5 separate regions of the Homo sapiens genome follow, and all the other regions are linked to region 4. Evidence: promoter capture Hi-C in 16 types of primary human blood cells and fetal thymus (Javierre and others, 2016). All regions are on one chromosome and are shown on one strand. Each heading gives the region's core, a stretch centred on a gene start or on the middle of the fragment in contact. The rest is flanking DNA. Distances are from core to core; before and after follow the strand shown.

Region 1 (2,700 bases), core at 190-2,689, 660 kb before region 4:
TTTCATTATTAAGATCTTCAGTGATTCACCATCTTCTGCTTTTTTGGTTTTTCTGAGAGTAGGCAAAATGGAGTTTCATTTGGAAGCCTTACTTTCTGAAAAATGGTGGGTGAAATGGAAAGTCTGGCTTTCATCCTTTAGGAGTTCATTTAACCCTTCTGATTTTTGACTCATCCATTAAGGCAGTGATAACATACAGTCTGGAAAATACACATAAAGAGGATGGTTATAAAATAATAAGCAAATAAACATTCATTTTACATGTTTCCTTGCACTCTTTACTTCCTCCTCTCGTCCCTCCCTTTACATTTTCCTGCTGAGAAATTTTAAGATTAGATTTCCAAGTTATCTGCTGCTTGAATTTTTCACACATTTTTATTTAGTATCTAAGGATTTCCCACACCACCCCAATTTCCATCCTGGATTAATCATACATTATAAATTCTGAATGTATGCTGACATTTCTGTTTGGTCTTTACAGTTATGATAAAAAGTTAATTCCAAGGTGAGTCTTCATTGGCTAGAAGTGAGATCGTTGCCTCTGAGTTGTGGGAGTAGCCCAGGGTGGTGAGTGAGGAGAAAGGGAGGAAACAGGTCAGACCACCCCCAAGGGAGGAGGATACAGAGGGGAGTGCTGTAATGATTACTCATAGTTGGAGGACATATTAGTGCATCGTAGATAATGTAGTAGGAACCAAGTGCCACAGGATTGATTATTTGTTTATTTTGAGATAAGAGTCTCACTCTGCTGCCCAGGTTGGTGTGCAGTGACACGATCTCAGCACACAGCAACTTCCGTCTCCCGGGCTCAAGTGATCTTCCCACTTCAGCTTCCCAAGTAGCTAGGACCACAAATGCAAGCCACCACGCTGGCCTAATTTTTAAATTTTGTGTAGAGATGGGGCCTCACTATGTTACCCAGGCTGGCCCATAGGATTATTTAAATCAAGAATTCTCTGTCTTCTATGCTAATAGCTTATGCCAAGTCTCGGCAGGGCAGTTCACTGAAACCTGAAATGATGGCCTGAAATGTCACAGGTTGGTGAGGATGCTAGCAATATGGTCTGGGCTCTCTGATTTATGAATTTTGGAAGCTGTGTCTGCATAGTACTGCTAAAAAGGACTGAGAAAGAAAATTATCTGTTTTCTACCCAGTTGCTTTGCCAAGTAAGAACAAAATCATTTGGAATGGAATTGTCTCAACTGATTGATCCACAGTGGTAAAAATAGTCTTTTCCAGACAGGTCAAGGTTACAGCATGACTGTCTGTGGCCATCTGTGACTTCCACTTCAAGCCCGTCATTGGCTCCCTGTGCTTTCTGGACAAGGGCATCACGATCTGACCGTTGCCTACCTCCTGTTGGCTTTTCCTTGTTTCAAAGGCTATATTTCAGATATTCTGAACTTTCAAAATTTCCAGAAGGCCAACATTCTTCTTCCAAATTCTTTAGATCATACTTACCATTTCTCCTAGAATGACCCACCCACTCATCTCTATTACCTTCCTCTCTTACTCTTCTCTGAGCACCCTCCCTAACCCCTAATGGGCTGCATGCCTGGCATATTGTGTGCCCCATTGCATCATTTACTTCCCTTGTTGTGGCACTCTTCTCTCCACCTTGTACTTACCTGATCATGCATCCTCCTCTCTCTACTAGAATGCAAGCTCATGAGTATAGGAGCCAGCTTCACTCCATCATGCTCATGGAGTGGAGCCCTGTGCCCAGTATCTAGTAGGGTCTCAATGAATGAATGAATGAATGAATGAATGAACCTAAAATTAGACTGAAGATGCTTGAAGCACATGCTAAAAGCTGGGGGATTATATGAACAAGACAGGAAATTCATATTATTGCCTTTCACACCACAGCTGTAAGGGCTGTAGAACTAAACCAACAAGCAAATACACACAACAAAAGAATTATCTTCCCCAGATAGGCCAAGTGCACATCTCCAGACTTGGGGTACACACTGCTGGTTACCTACCTAGTACCCATGTGCATCTTTTTCCTTGCTAATAGAATCCCAGTTTTGTTCAAGGGGACAATGTCCTACATTTTAAAAATAAAAGCTACATTTCTCATGTTTTTTTTTTTTTCTTTTTCAGTGGAGTTCACCATCTCAGACAATTCTCACCAGTGAGAAGCAGAAGATTGCTGGCGATTCAGAGAAAGTTTCATTTTCCTGATACGAAGGTATCCTTTCCTTCCTGTTGCCTGTCTTCCTCTTTTTTTGCCTGGAATGTAAAGGAAAGGCAAGAGTAGACTCACTGTAAGTACACAACTACATTCTAAGAAAGTCAGACCAGAAAGACGGAAAGAGCCTTGAACCTTAAAAATATGGTGGAGCCTACCTTCAGATGTGTCATCAGAGAAAAATAAACTGGCTAAGCCACAGGAGACTAATTTGTGTTCTATGCAGAATGCCACCTCTGAGTGACACAGAGCTTTATCTCTAGGCTCCTGAAGTGAGTGCTTTTCAGTGGGGTAAAAACAAAAAACCCCAGTTTTTGTTTGTTTATTTGTTTGTTTTGAGACGGAGTCTCACTCTGTCGCTAGGCTGAAGTGCAGTGGTGAGACCTTGGCTCACTGCAACCTCTGCCTCCCGGGTTCAAGCGATTCTCCTGCCTCAGCCTCCTGAGTAGCTGGGACTATAGGCACATGCCATCATGCCCAGCTAATTTTTGTATTTTTAGTAGAC
Region 2 (2,700 bases), core at 77-2,576, 560 kb before region 4:
AATCTATTTCTTTCCAATCCAGAGCCTGTGAGTGATTCTATAGGGTAGTGAACACAATAAACTATTACCAGAGAATAGTATTTTTGTCAATGATTTAGGTGATATTTTAAGAGGTATAAGGAGTTTCTATAGAATTTTCCTTCCATAGAGCCTGGGGAAGAGGCTAAGGGGCTGGGGGGGAGGGCAGCTCCTATCAACCAGCTCTACCTGCTCCCTCTCCAGTCCCATCCTGTCCCCTGAACCTGGCTGCCCTGGACTCCAGGTGCCACCTATGTGCTGGCTATAGCTGATTTGTAGTGATTTCCTGAAATGTTCCACTGAGCAGCTTTCTGGGCCGGGAAAGAAATAGCACAGACTTCAAATTTATGAGGTCTGCCACAAGTATGGGATGAGAGGAAGTTCGAGGAATTTTCCAACCCTGTGCTAGCCACCTTTCTTAGTCTACAATGCTTTAATATGATCATAGATAAAGGTAGTCAATGTTTGTCCTAGGATTCAGCCAGTTAAAAATAAAGTAATTGAGAGTCTGACATTGGATAAATTACATAACTTTCCAGGCTTAATTTCTCATCTATATCATAGAAATAACAATATTTATCTGATTAGATTTTTAAAACTCCAATACATGTATAAGTCTTGCCACATAACTATATGTCCAATTAAAAAGTGTTTTCCTTTTCTTTCTTATGTGGTTTAAAATGCACGAGTTTTTACACAATCCAATTTTACTGGCTTGGCAGTGTAGAATTTCCTCTGTGTGTACCTCGAGGGTACTGAAGTTCAGGCTCTAGGGGTCTGTTTCTTGAATGGCAGGGCACCTTTGGCTTCCTTTCTTGCAAAACCTTGAACTCAGGCGTGTGGGGCAGGGGGAGGATTTGTGCAGTCTTGCATGGACGTCTACAGTGCCTTGGCTGAACAATGTGTTAATTATGGCCTTTCCGTCTCAACTGCACCTGCCCATTTCACTATCAGAAAGAAAAATCTCTCCTTTCTTCCTTGCTTCACTGTTATACTTTAGAACCATGATTGTTTTGCCGAAATAGATATTGACTAGAGAAGGACAAACCTCAAAGGTTTTGGATTAAGTTCTCTTTCTGATAAACATGAGGGAGTTTGAATGCTCTGGGGAGTCTTATTTAAGCTATCTTAACCTTTGGGGCCCATGAAAACTGGAAGAAAAAATTTCTTTCTTACCACTTTCTTTGGTTTGCTACCATTAGAAGAGACCATGCTGCAAGCACAGGTCACTCCAAGGCTTTAGCTGCAATTGTTTTGTGATGTATTTTGAAATCCTAGGGTGACAATACTTGTATACATGCAAAATAGGAATAATAAGCTAATTTTTGGCATACCAGGGGTTCTTAATCCCTTTTACTCTTTGGACTGTCAATGGGAAAGTCTGGTGAGTTCCAGGAACCCTTTTCCTAGTAACATTTTTTCAGTGCCTGTACTAAAAACATATAGGATTTAAAGAAACTGAATTATACTGAAATACAGTTTTCTCTGTGAGCCAATCAGTTTCTGTTGAAATGCAAAAAGATCTTTAAAAATTACATTTGCTGCCTTTTTATTATTAGAAAAACCCTGCTTATTATTCAGTAAAGGTGTAACATTTGAAAATTATAATAAAAGTGTAAGAAAAATTTAAAAATCACCTACAGCTTCAATTTCAAAAGAATCTTTGAATATTAATTCACCTCTGATAGGTGGTCAGATTACAAAGGAGAATTTTTTGGTTTTTTTTTTTTCAATGTTCAGAGCACAGTCAAGGTGCAAATGAATGGTGAGCACAACCTTTGAGAACTTTTCAATCAACACCTAGTGCTGGAGATGAATGGGACACAAGAGCTTAGCCAATTCAGAAGTACTGAATCTAGTGTGAGCATCAGATGCATCTGGGGAGATTGTTCTAAAATTTAGATTTTCGGGTTCTATTCCAGGCCTTCTGACCAAGAATATCCAGAGACAAGGTCGAAGAATCTGAACTTTTAAAGGCCGCTTAGGAACATCTGATTATCAGCAAGTCTTGGGAACCACTGATAATACAACGCGCACCCCCCCACTCAGTGCAGAATGCTTCCCAACAAGGTCTCTAAATGCTTCTTCCAAAGCATGTTTGGGTTTGGAGATTCAGCTCAAATGCTCTGACACAGACTGTCCTAAACTGGTATCATCCCAGCCTGTGACAGAAATTGAAAAACAAGTAATACTTCGTGCTCTAAAATCTTGATTTCTGCTTAGTTGTGTCCTCATCAAATAGCTGCTTTCTATTTTCCATGGCCAAGTGCACAGAAGAAGGGGGTGGGGGCGGGGGGTGGCTGGCTGGCTCTAGCATTTGGCTGGACAGAGTGAGAGCTATATTGGAGGGGGGGCCGGGGTGGGGGACTGATTCTTGGAGTGACTCTCTGGATCTGGATCGTGGGCTTTTTCATCCTCGTGAAGTCTACGTGCTGCGTTTTATTCATTAGCACCTACAAGGGACTAATTGCCATCAGGCATGTAGGTGGAATTCCTGGCAGGGAGCAAGAAATGGAATAGGTTTGATGACAACCAATGATCTGCCAAAGCCCTGTCAGAAGGAGAACAGAGTCTTGCTGTCACTCATCCACCCCTTTAAATTCAAATGAAGATGCTTCTGAGTGGGGAGGGGGAGGGGGTTGGCACGCGTCCAACTTTGCATTGAAGATACTGTACATTTTT
Region 3 (2,700 bases), core at 174-2,673, 680 kb before region 4:
CTCTCCTGCCCTCTTCTCTTGACTGGGGAGGACCTGGCAGGATGCAGTGGTGCTTGTTGGCAGTGTGTCCCTCCTGCTGCCTCGTGGTCACCCGAAGGGATGGTATCTGGTCCCACCCGAAGGGATGGTGTCTGGTCCCGATGCATGGTGGCTTCTTGTTGGGTCTTGCGAGAATATGATGGTATCTCTGTTTCCAGTAGTATTAAATGTCCTGTGGTATGAGCAAAAAAGGGACATGGCTTAAAAGTGACTTATTTTGGGGAAAATGCAGTTCTAAAGAATGCAATTTAGCCGGGTATGGTGGATCATGCCTTAATCCCAGAGCTTTGGAAAGCTGAGGTGAGAGAATGGCTTGAGCCCAGGAGTTTAAGGTTATAGTGAGCCATGACAGTGCCACTGCACTTCTGCCTGGGTGACAATGTCTCTCTCTAAAAAAAAAAAAAAAAAAGCAACTTATATGTTAAATGATGGGCAATGGAATGAAAGATTCGATTTCACAGTCTATGAATCTATGTTAATTATTAATTCTCAAAATGATTTTTATACCCAGGGCTCAATGAATAAAATGTTTCTTCATAAAAATTAGAGGAAGGAGACTGAACTGAGTTTAGGTTCCCAAATCATAGGCCTAGTGCCACGGGACAGGTAAAGCCATGAATCTTCTTGTGAATTTGGTTGCTAACTTAGAGCACTGGGTAACTGGGTCCATCTATGTATCCATCCACCATCCTTCCTTCCTTCCATCCACCATCCATCCATCCTTCCTTCCATCCACCATCCATCCTTCCTTCCATCCACCATCCATCCTTTCTTCCATCTACCATCCATCCTTCCTTCCATCCACCATCCACCCTTCCTTCCATCCACCATCCATCCTTCCTTCCATCCACCATCCATCCGTCCTTCCATCCACTATCCATCCTTCCTTCCATCCACCCACCCATTCATCCATCTCAGTGTCCTGATTCTTGTCCCTTAAAAGCTATAGTACAATGTTTTCATTATGTGGTCTGACTTTTAACAAGTACCCCAGATGTGTTAAGTTTGAGAAACTCTGGGCTATACTGAAGACTGCAGAAAAGTACCTTCTCATCAATGAAATCAGTGATCACTCTCTTCGATGATATTTCCCCAGGCATGACTGGCCTCACAAAGAAACTTCCCTTGAGATATGTGCTGTATTCACATGCAAACTTTGATGTGTGCATCTCAACCAAGTGAGCCTACATGTGTTTGCGCTGGATGTGTACTATTTTGTAAAGTGAATTCAGAGAGATGGAGAGTTCAGATCAAGAGGAAGCTTGCTCCCTGCCCTCTAACCTCACACCACCCAGCAGAACTTTTTCACCATCTGAAATTTTTGTTTGTTCATTTATTGCTCATTATCCACCTTCCCAAACCTGAATGTAAACTGTGATATTAAGTACATTGATTGCTTGTTCACAGTGGAGCCCCAGAACCTGGCTTAGATACCAACACGTAGGAACCACTGCTACTGTTACTGTTAATGACTCAATGAGCCACGTAGATAGACACGAGTAAAACACAAGCTTTGCCCAAATAATTGCAGACATTGAGGTGAAGTAGGGATCATAGTGGAGTAAAAAAATGGATAGGATTAGTTTGGGAAACATTTCTAGGAGTGAAATCTGAGAAGCCTTCTGAAAGGCATAGAGAATGGAAGGTAGGAACTTGTTCCTTCTCTGTAGACCAGTTCAGGCAGAGGCCTTGAAGCGGAAATTGAGAAACTGGTTCTGAAAAACAAGAAGCACAGTCTGGCTGGAACAGAGGGAACTTGGAGAGGAGAAGTCACAGATGAGAGTGGCCATAGGGTGGTGCTGGGTGAAGGAGAGTTTGAAGGCAATGGTCAGAAGTTTATATTTGGTCCAGATGGTAATAGCAAGCCACCGGAGGGCCATGTTTACACATTTTCAAAATCCAATTAGGATACCACATGTTTTTGTGCTGTAATCACCCATTTTGGACCCATTAAATAAATTAGTTGAAAGAGAAAAACAAAGAAAAAAAATAAAACGATGTGTCATTTGATAGCATTAGGAAATCATGGGATAAATGTATTAAATTGGAATGTTTGACCTGGAACGAAATTAATCCAAATATGGTCTTGATGACTGAGTCTCAAACTGAGCCAGGCCCACAGCTGATGTTTGAAAATATGAATGGTTAAAAAACAAACAAACAAACAAAAAGAAATGATGGTGGTTTGGGTGAGGAAAATAGGCATATCTTTCCCTTTGAAGGGTTTGGACATTCACTTACTGAGGGCAGAAGCCTGGACCTGCTGATTTCTCATGCTCGATTCCAAGCTCTAGATTATGACAGTTCTATAAGAACACTGGTTGACACGCATGAGGAGGAAGCAGCTGTTTCAGTGGAATTCCCTCTGGAGAGGAAGGAAGTCCAGCCATCCAGATGAGATCAGGCAGAGGGAGGCGGATAGAAGAACAAGCAGGCACTCAGAAGAGGGGAGCTGTACAAACCTGGGGTTTCGTGTGTACCTACTGTACATCCTTTCTTTAGCCTCAGCCACAAATTAGAACATGCAGAAAAGATAGTAGAAGACAAAAGGGAAGTGAGAAGGTGGACACAGATGCTGCTTTATTGGGAGAAAGTAATAATCTTTGTCTCTTCTGCTAGTATGATTTATTTCTTAGAGCCCCCACTATTCAAAGTGTGGTA
Region 4 (2,700 bases), core at 148-2,647:
GCAAGGGCCAAGCAGGGCTGCAGATGGATAGGAAAGGTTCTCTGGCATCTTTCTATAAACTTACGAGGATGCTGGCCATGATGATGGTGGCGGTGGTAAGGGGAGTTCCTCTGACTCCGACCTCATGTCTTTGGCAGGAGTTGAAATGAATAATAAAGCTGGGTTTATGATTAGATAGAATACCAGAGCAGAGAGAGCAGTTAGAGGGAGAAGCTGTCTTATTTTAGGAAGCATGATGACTTATTTTTTCAAAATCTGAATTCGATATTCCCCTTTGCTAAGAATTGGTGTGGGTTTTGTTGTTGTTGTTTGTTTCTTAACAAAATAAAAGAGAAGAAGATTCCCATAAGCAGAGCTTAATCATTTAAATCTAAAAAGGCAATCAGCAGTTGATTTTAGGGTGGCAGGGTCCTGCCAAGGCCTTAGGAGAAGGCCGAGGGAAACCTCCCAAGCCTTGGATAACTAGCCTGGAGGGTGTGCAGGTTTCCTCCAGCTTGGGCACATCTGCCTTGCCCCATAGAGAATGTTAACAAGATACCTGCTGTTTTCCCTTCTGCCTCTATGCAGGACAGCTTCTGAAATCCTAAACTGCACAGGGTGTCACTCCAAAAACAGACAGATAGTAGCTGCTAAATTAGAGAACCCAGAGGGCACAAGGTTGGGTTTTGTTTTTCTAGGAAAGAGTGTAAAACTGGAGTGTCTGACTAGTGCCCCGGATAGGGAGGCTTAATAGGTTTGGGGTAACTCATCCCCATGAGCTCTGCTCTACTCTCATCCACACCTGCCAGAAGGGGTCAGGGTGAAGCCGATGGACAGCAGTGCTGACCCGCATGCAGTGGACTTTCCATGAATAACACCCAAGGCTGACTACAGATGTTTAGGTGGGGGTGCCGAGGGAGGGTTACTTGGCTGACTAGAATTAGGGACAGCCGTGTGCAAATTGCTTTTTTAGGGCCAGAGAGGCTGAGGCTGCTGGCTTCCAGTCACACAGCCTACAGGACAGCCCCTGATTTCACAAGAGCAGGTTTCTGATGCATGATCTAGCCCCACCCCTTCTTCACAGGCAGCTGTACTTGGAAGCAAATGATTTAGTGTTCCTGAGAGAGGATTGTACAAAGAGAGTACTCATTAGAGGGGGCTCAATCTGTCAGGTGCTGTTATATTAGGATCAGAGAGTCATCATAAAATGACTTTCATGCTGGTCTTGGCTGATAATTAACTGCATGGCATCGCCTGCGTATTGTAGAGAGGCAAGGGTGCTGATTTATGCATCCGTTTAATTATCTGAATTGAAAGACTCTGTTCCCTGTATTTGCATCCACTGCCTGCGTGCTTTCTCTCTCCCCCATATTTCTGACATTTGGATTTTCCCCCTACTAATTGACATGCCTGTCGCCTCCTTCTCCTGGTGTCCATTTCTGGAACTGCTATTTGTATATTGCATGATATTTTATCAGGAAAAAATATAAAACAGATCTAATTTCATGAAAATGCTGTTGCCATAATGCTCAGGAGAACAGGGGGAAGAGAGAGATTCAAGTCTTCCTAATGTCTACCTTATATGCAGGTACATTTTACAAGTTCTATTGTATTCTGACTTATTAAGCAGTGCATATTTCTTTCTTTTACATTAGCTTTCATTGCAGAAGGGTGTGGGGAGATGAGACTGCTGGAAACTGACGTGGGATTGATGTTTATCAGGGCTGTAGGCTTCAGAAATATATTAAGCCTCGGAATGTCCTAGGTATGAAAAAGATAATAAATAACAGGTCAATTTATTATATTCCCTTTATCTCTATATTACCTGAGAGAGATTGCTATACTGCAGTGACACTTTCAAGATGCCCCAATCCTCCAATCTCCATGCATAACAATTTGAAAAAGGGAAGGTTGACTAAGGCTGGGATGTTCAGGATCAATTTCTAATCAGTTTCAGGTTTTACTCAAATATCTCATGCTGTAAACTCTTGAAATGAATGTCTTCCCATAGTGCGCCGTGAGCAGGTTCTGCATTAGTTTGTACAGGTGCGACCTAGGTTCCTGCACTATTACCTAGCTAACCAGATATAGCTGGTTGCTTTGCGAACCTTTCATTACCTGCTCTCTAATAATATTCTTTTCATCCTCTGTGCTATTTTTTCCCTCCCGAGGCTTGTGAGCAAGGCTGTATCACAGCCTGCTCTGCCTGAGTAATTCACTAAGAAAGTCCCACGCAAACCCATGTGGGTGATAATATTTCATCACTTAAACCTCTATGAGCTTGGTGGACACATACCAAAGAGAGAGAAAAAGAGGTGCAGAAAAATGGGCAAAGAGAAATTTTGTACCTCACAGGGAATACCTCTGAAATGCTGCTGGGTGGGAAGGATTGGACAGAGGAGAGACTGTGTAAGCTGGAAGGAAAGATAGCTGGAAGGGTGTTTGCAGCACATTTTCCTTTGCTTTCAGAATTTTAAAAATGTTTTGAATAAGTCAATCATGAAGGCATGGCAAGGGTTAAGCAACTAAGCCCCTTGTTGTTCCCTCCCCCTACACTAAGATGCAAAATGCTGGACTCATCCAAAAGTCCAGCATCTCAGATTTGTGGGTCTATGAACATTTTCAGTTAAATAAGCAACACACACATGCAGTGTTTCGATTTGGTTTTGTTTTCCTCACCAGGGTCCTGCTTAAAATATGTTGCTCTTTTACATATGGGCA
Region 5 (2,700 bases), core at 24-2,523, 700 kb before region 4:
AGGCTTAAATTAAGGGAATGTTGTGGCTGGCTTGATCTTCTGTCCAGGCCACTCATACTTTCTCCATATCAGCAATAAGTCATTTTGCTTTCTCATTCCTTTCCTTTTGCATTCACAACTTGACTAACTACTTGGCACAAGAGGCCTAGCTTTTGGCCTATTTCAGCTTTTGACGTGTCTTCCTCGCTAAGCTTAATCATTTCCAGCGTTTGATTTAAAGAAAGAGATGTGCAACTCTTCCTTTCACTTGAACACTTAGATGCCATTGCAGGGTTATTAATTAGCCTAATTTCAGTATTGTGGTGTCTCAAAGGAATAGGGAGGCCTGAGGAGATGGAGAAAGATGGAGAATGCTGGTTGGTGGAGGAGTCAGAGCAATTCCAACATTTATTAATCAGATTTGCCATCTTCACTGTTCCTTGCACCTCAAAACAATTGCAATAGTAACATCAAAGATCACTGATCACAGATCACCATAAAAGATATAATAATAATTTGAAAAATTGGAAATATTTTGAGAATTACCAAAATGTGACACAGAGACACGAAGTGAGTGCAGGCTGTTGGAAAAATGACACCGATAGACTTGTTGGATACAGAGTTGCCACAAGCCTTCAATTTGTAAAAAATGCAGTATCTGTGAAATGCAATAAAATGAAGCACAATAAAGTGAAGTATGCCTCTACGTTCTCACTTCATCTATTGTATCTTGATTTGTTTAGGGTGAGGCAGGCCGGAGGGAATTTACTTCCTCCCGTTTGACCATGTGTCTGGTGAGAAGACCCACCTGCAGCTCCAGGAATGCCCCCATATTGGTTTAAGTGTTTCAGTATTTTCACCTTCAGCCCCTGTGATTGGGAAAGAATGGGCATGAAACAACTTGGGCCAATAAATGATAATACCTCCAGGACGAGCACGTATCAGAAGAGCCTTTCCCTCTTCTGCATGGTGTTAGAAGATGGAAGCTGAGTTTTCTCAGCTATTTTGTGGCAAGAACAGTGGTGAGGGGAACATCTGAACTGCCAGAGAATGTGTTTCCAGAAAGAGGTCCCAATCCAGACCCCAAGAGAGGGAATTCTTTCTTGCTGCAAGAAAGAATTCAGGATCAGTCCACAGAGTAAAGTGAAAGCAAGTTTATTAAGCAAGTAAAGGAATAAAGAATGGCTACTCCATAGGCAGAGCAGCCCCGAGGGCTACTGGTTGGCTATGTTATGGTTATTTCTTGATTATATGCTAAACAAGGGATGGCTTATTCATGGGTTTTCCGGAAAAGGGGTGGGCATTTTCCAGAACCGAGGGTTCCTCCGCTTTTTAGACCATATAGGTTAACTTCCAGATATTGCCATGGCATTTATAAACTGTCATGACACTGGCGGGAGTGTCTTTTAGCATGTTAATGTGTTATAATTAGCATATAATGAGCAGTCAGGACAACCAGAGGTCACTTTCATGGCCATCTTGATTTTGGTGGGTTTTGGCTTCTTTACCACACCTGTTTTATCAGCAAGGTCTTTACGACCTGTATTTTGTGCTGACTTCTTGTCCCATTTTGTGACTAAGAATGCCTTAACCTGTTGAAAACACAGCCCATTGTAGGTCTCGGCCTTATTTTACCGAGTCCCTATTCAAGATGGAGTTGCTCTGGTTCAAATACCTCTGACAAAAGTATCCCTCTTGTGGGTCTATAGGATCTGTGAAAACTGCTTCCCCATATTCTGAAAAGGGTTTTTCTGGGAAAAATGGGCCATAGGAGGTATGTATGAAGTAGTTCTGGTTATAATAGGAAGAGATTTGGCTTTGGAGTGAGCCAAGCCTAGCTTCAAATTCCAGGCACAGCCACACCTAGCAGTAATTCTACCCTAGGTGAGTTATTTTCTCTTTGGACCTCAGTTTCAGTACCTGTAATGTGGGTACAAGAAAACATATCTATGAGCTGTTGTGAGAATTTAAGGCATATATTCAAGAGCAAGAGTGTTGTGAGGCTTGAGCATTGTGAGAGAGGACTGTGGACACAGACACAGTTATGTGGGGAGGGGACAGGTAAGAGAATGAAGGAGGAATTAGGGCACAGACCTCCTTGTATGCAGGCTCAAGGGAAATTGGTTCCCTGGTATAGGTTTCTCAACCTTGGATATGTGCATAAATCACCTGGAGATCTTACTAAAATGCAGATTCTGATTCAGGAGTTCTTGCATGAGGTCTGAGTTTCTGTTTCTAACTAGCCCCTGCCTCCTGGTCATATGGATCTTCTGGTTTGTGGACCTCTTGGGTTAAAATGCTCTAGATCACAAATGAGGGCAGACCTCATCACCCTTATTTTTATTCCTGAGAAGTCTTTCTACTACCCACTAAATGGCAAGCTTTTCCAAGGCAATCCTAGATGTGTTCAGTGTTCTGTGCACTGTGTTTGCTCACTCTATGGAGGAAGAGAGCTCAATTATGGGAGGTAAAGGAGATGCCCTGATGCTGTCTGCTTACCCTGCAGAGCTGAATGCGAGAGGCTTACAAATGGACCTGAGCTCAAAAGTCAGGAAGTGTTGGTAGAATCCTGGCCAAAGCCTGGGTGGAGAGCTTCTCAGAGGGAAGATGGAAAATGAAAGGCTTTCTGTGTCACTGGTTCCCTTCATTGTTGGGTGTTCACATCTCACCGCACAGGAAGCAGCTTCATCTGCAGTTTCCTTCATGAGTCTAGGGAGAGCA

Evidence for each region. Contacts are between HindIII fragments. The CHiCAGO score rates a contact against its expected background, and 5 or more counts as called.
Region 1: a fragment that was not itself captured here is called in contact with the fragment with the promoter of INHBA-AS1 in region 4 in 1 of 17 cell types (neutrophils); the score reaches 5.1 in neutrophils.
Region 2: a contact is called between a fragment that was not itself captured here and the fragment with the promoter of INHBA-AS1 in region 4, in 1 of 17 cell types (neutrophils). The highest score is 5.2, in neutrophils.
Region 3: a contact is called between a fragment that was not itself captured here and the fragment with the promoter of INHBA-AS1 in region 4, in 5 of 17 cell types (endothelial precursors, M1 macrophages, M0 macrophages and 2 more). The highest score is 10.2, in endothelial precursors.
Region 5: a contact is called between a fragment that was not itself captured here and the fragment with the promoter of INHBA-AS1 in region 4, in 1 of 17 cell types (neutrophils). The highest score is 6.4, in neutrophils.

Annotation. Positions count from the first base shown.
Region 1 is chr7:41,030,251-41,032,950 of GRCh38, forward strand. It overlaps a transcript of SUGCT not described here. Among named protein-coding and RNA genes, the nearest start is that of LINC01450, 52 kb to the left of the region's middle. The HindIII fragment of the contact is 8,480 bases long and covers 1-2,700 here.
Region 2 is chr7:41,131,284-41,133,983 of GRCh38, forward strand. It overlaps LINC01449 (long intergenic non-protein coding RNA 1449), which reads left to right. Exons shown (of 6, transcript NR_110832.1): 6 at 1,941-2,218. All of the region lies in intron 1 of LOC105375241 (a long non-coding RNA gene), which reads right to left. Among named protein-coding and RNA genes, the nearest start is that of LINC01449, 31 kb to the left of the region's middle. RefSeq lists a silencer at 824-903 and an enhancer at 2,699-2,700. The HindIII fragment of the contact is 5,556 bases long and covers 1-2,700 here.
Region 3 is chr7:41,008,779-41,011,478 of GRCh38, forward strand. It overlaps a transcript of SUGCT not described here. Among named protein-coding and RNA genes, the nearest start is that of LINC01450, 30 kb to the left of the region's middle. The HindIII fragment of the contact is 250 bases long and covers 1,299-1,548 here.
Region 4 is chr7:41,692,522-41,695,221 of GRCh38, forward strand. It overlaps INHBA-AS1 (INHBA antisense RNA 1), which reads left to right and starts at 1,398. Exons shown (of 4, transcript NR_027118.2): 1 at 1,398-1,567. The region is part of intron 2 of INHBA (inhibin subunit beta A); the gene reads right to left. The HindIII fragment of the contact is 8,944 bases long and covers 1-2,700 here.
Region 5 is chr7:40,990,904-40,993,603 of GRCh38, forward strand. It overlaps a transcript of SUGCT not described here. Among named protein-coding and RNA genes, the nearest start is that of LINC01450, 12 kb to the left of the region's middle. The HindIII fragment of the contact is 2,169 bases long and covers 190-2,358 here.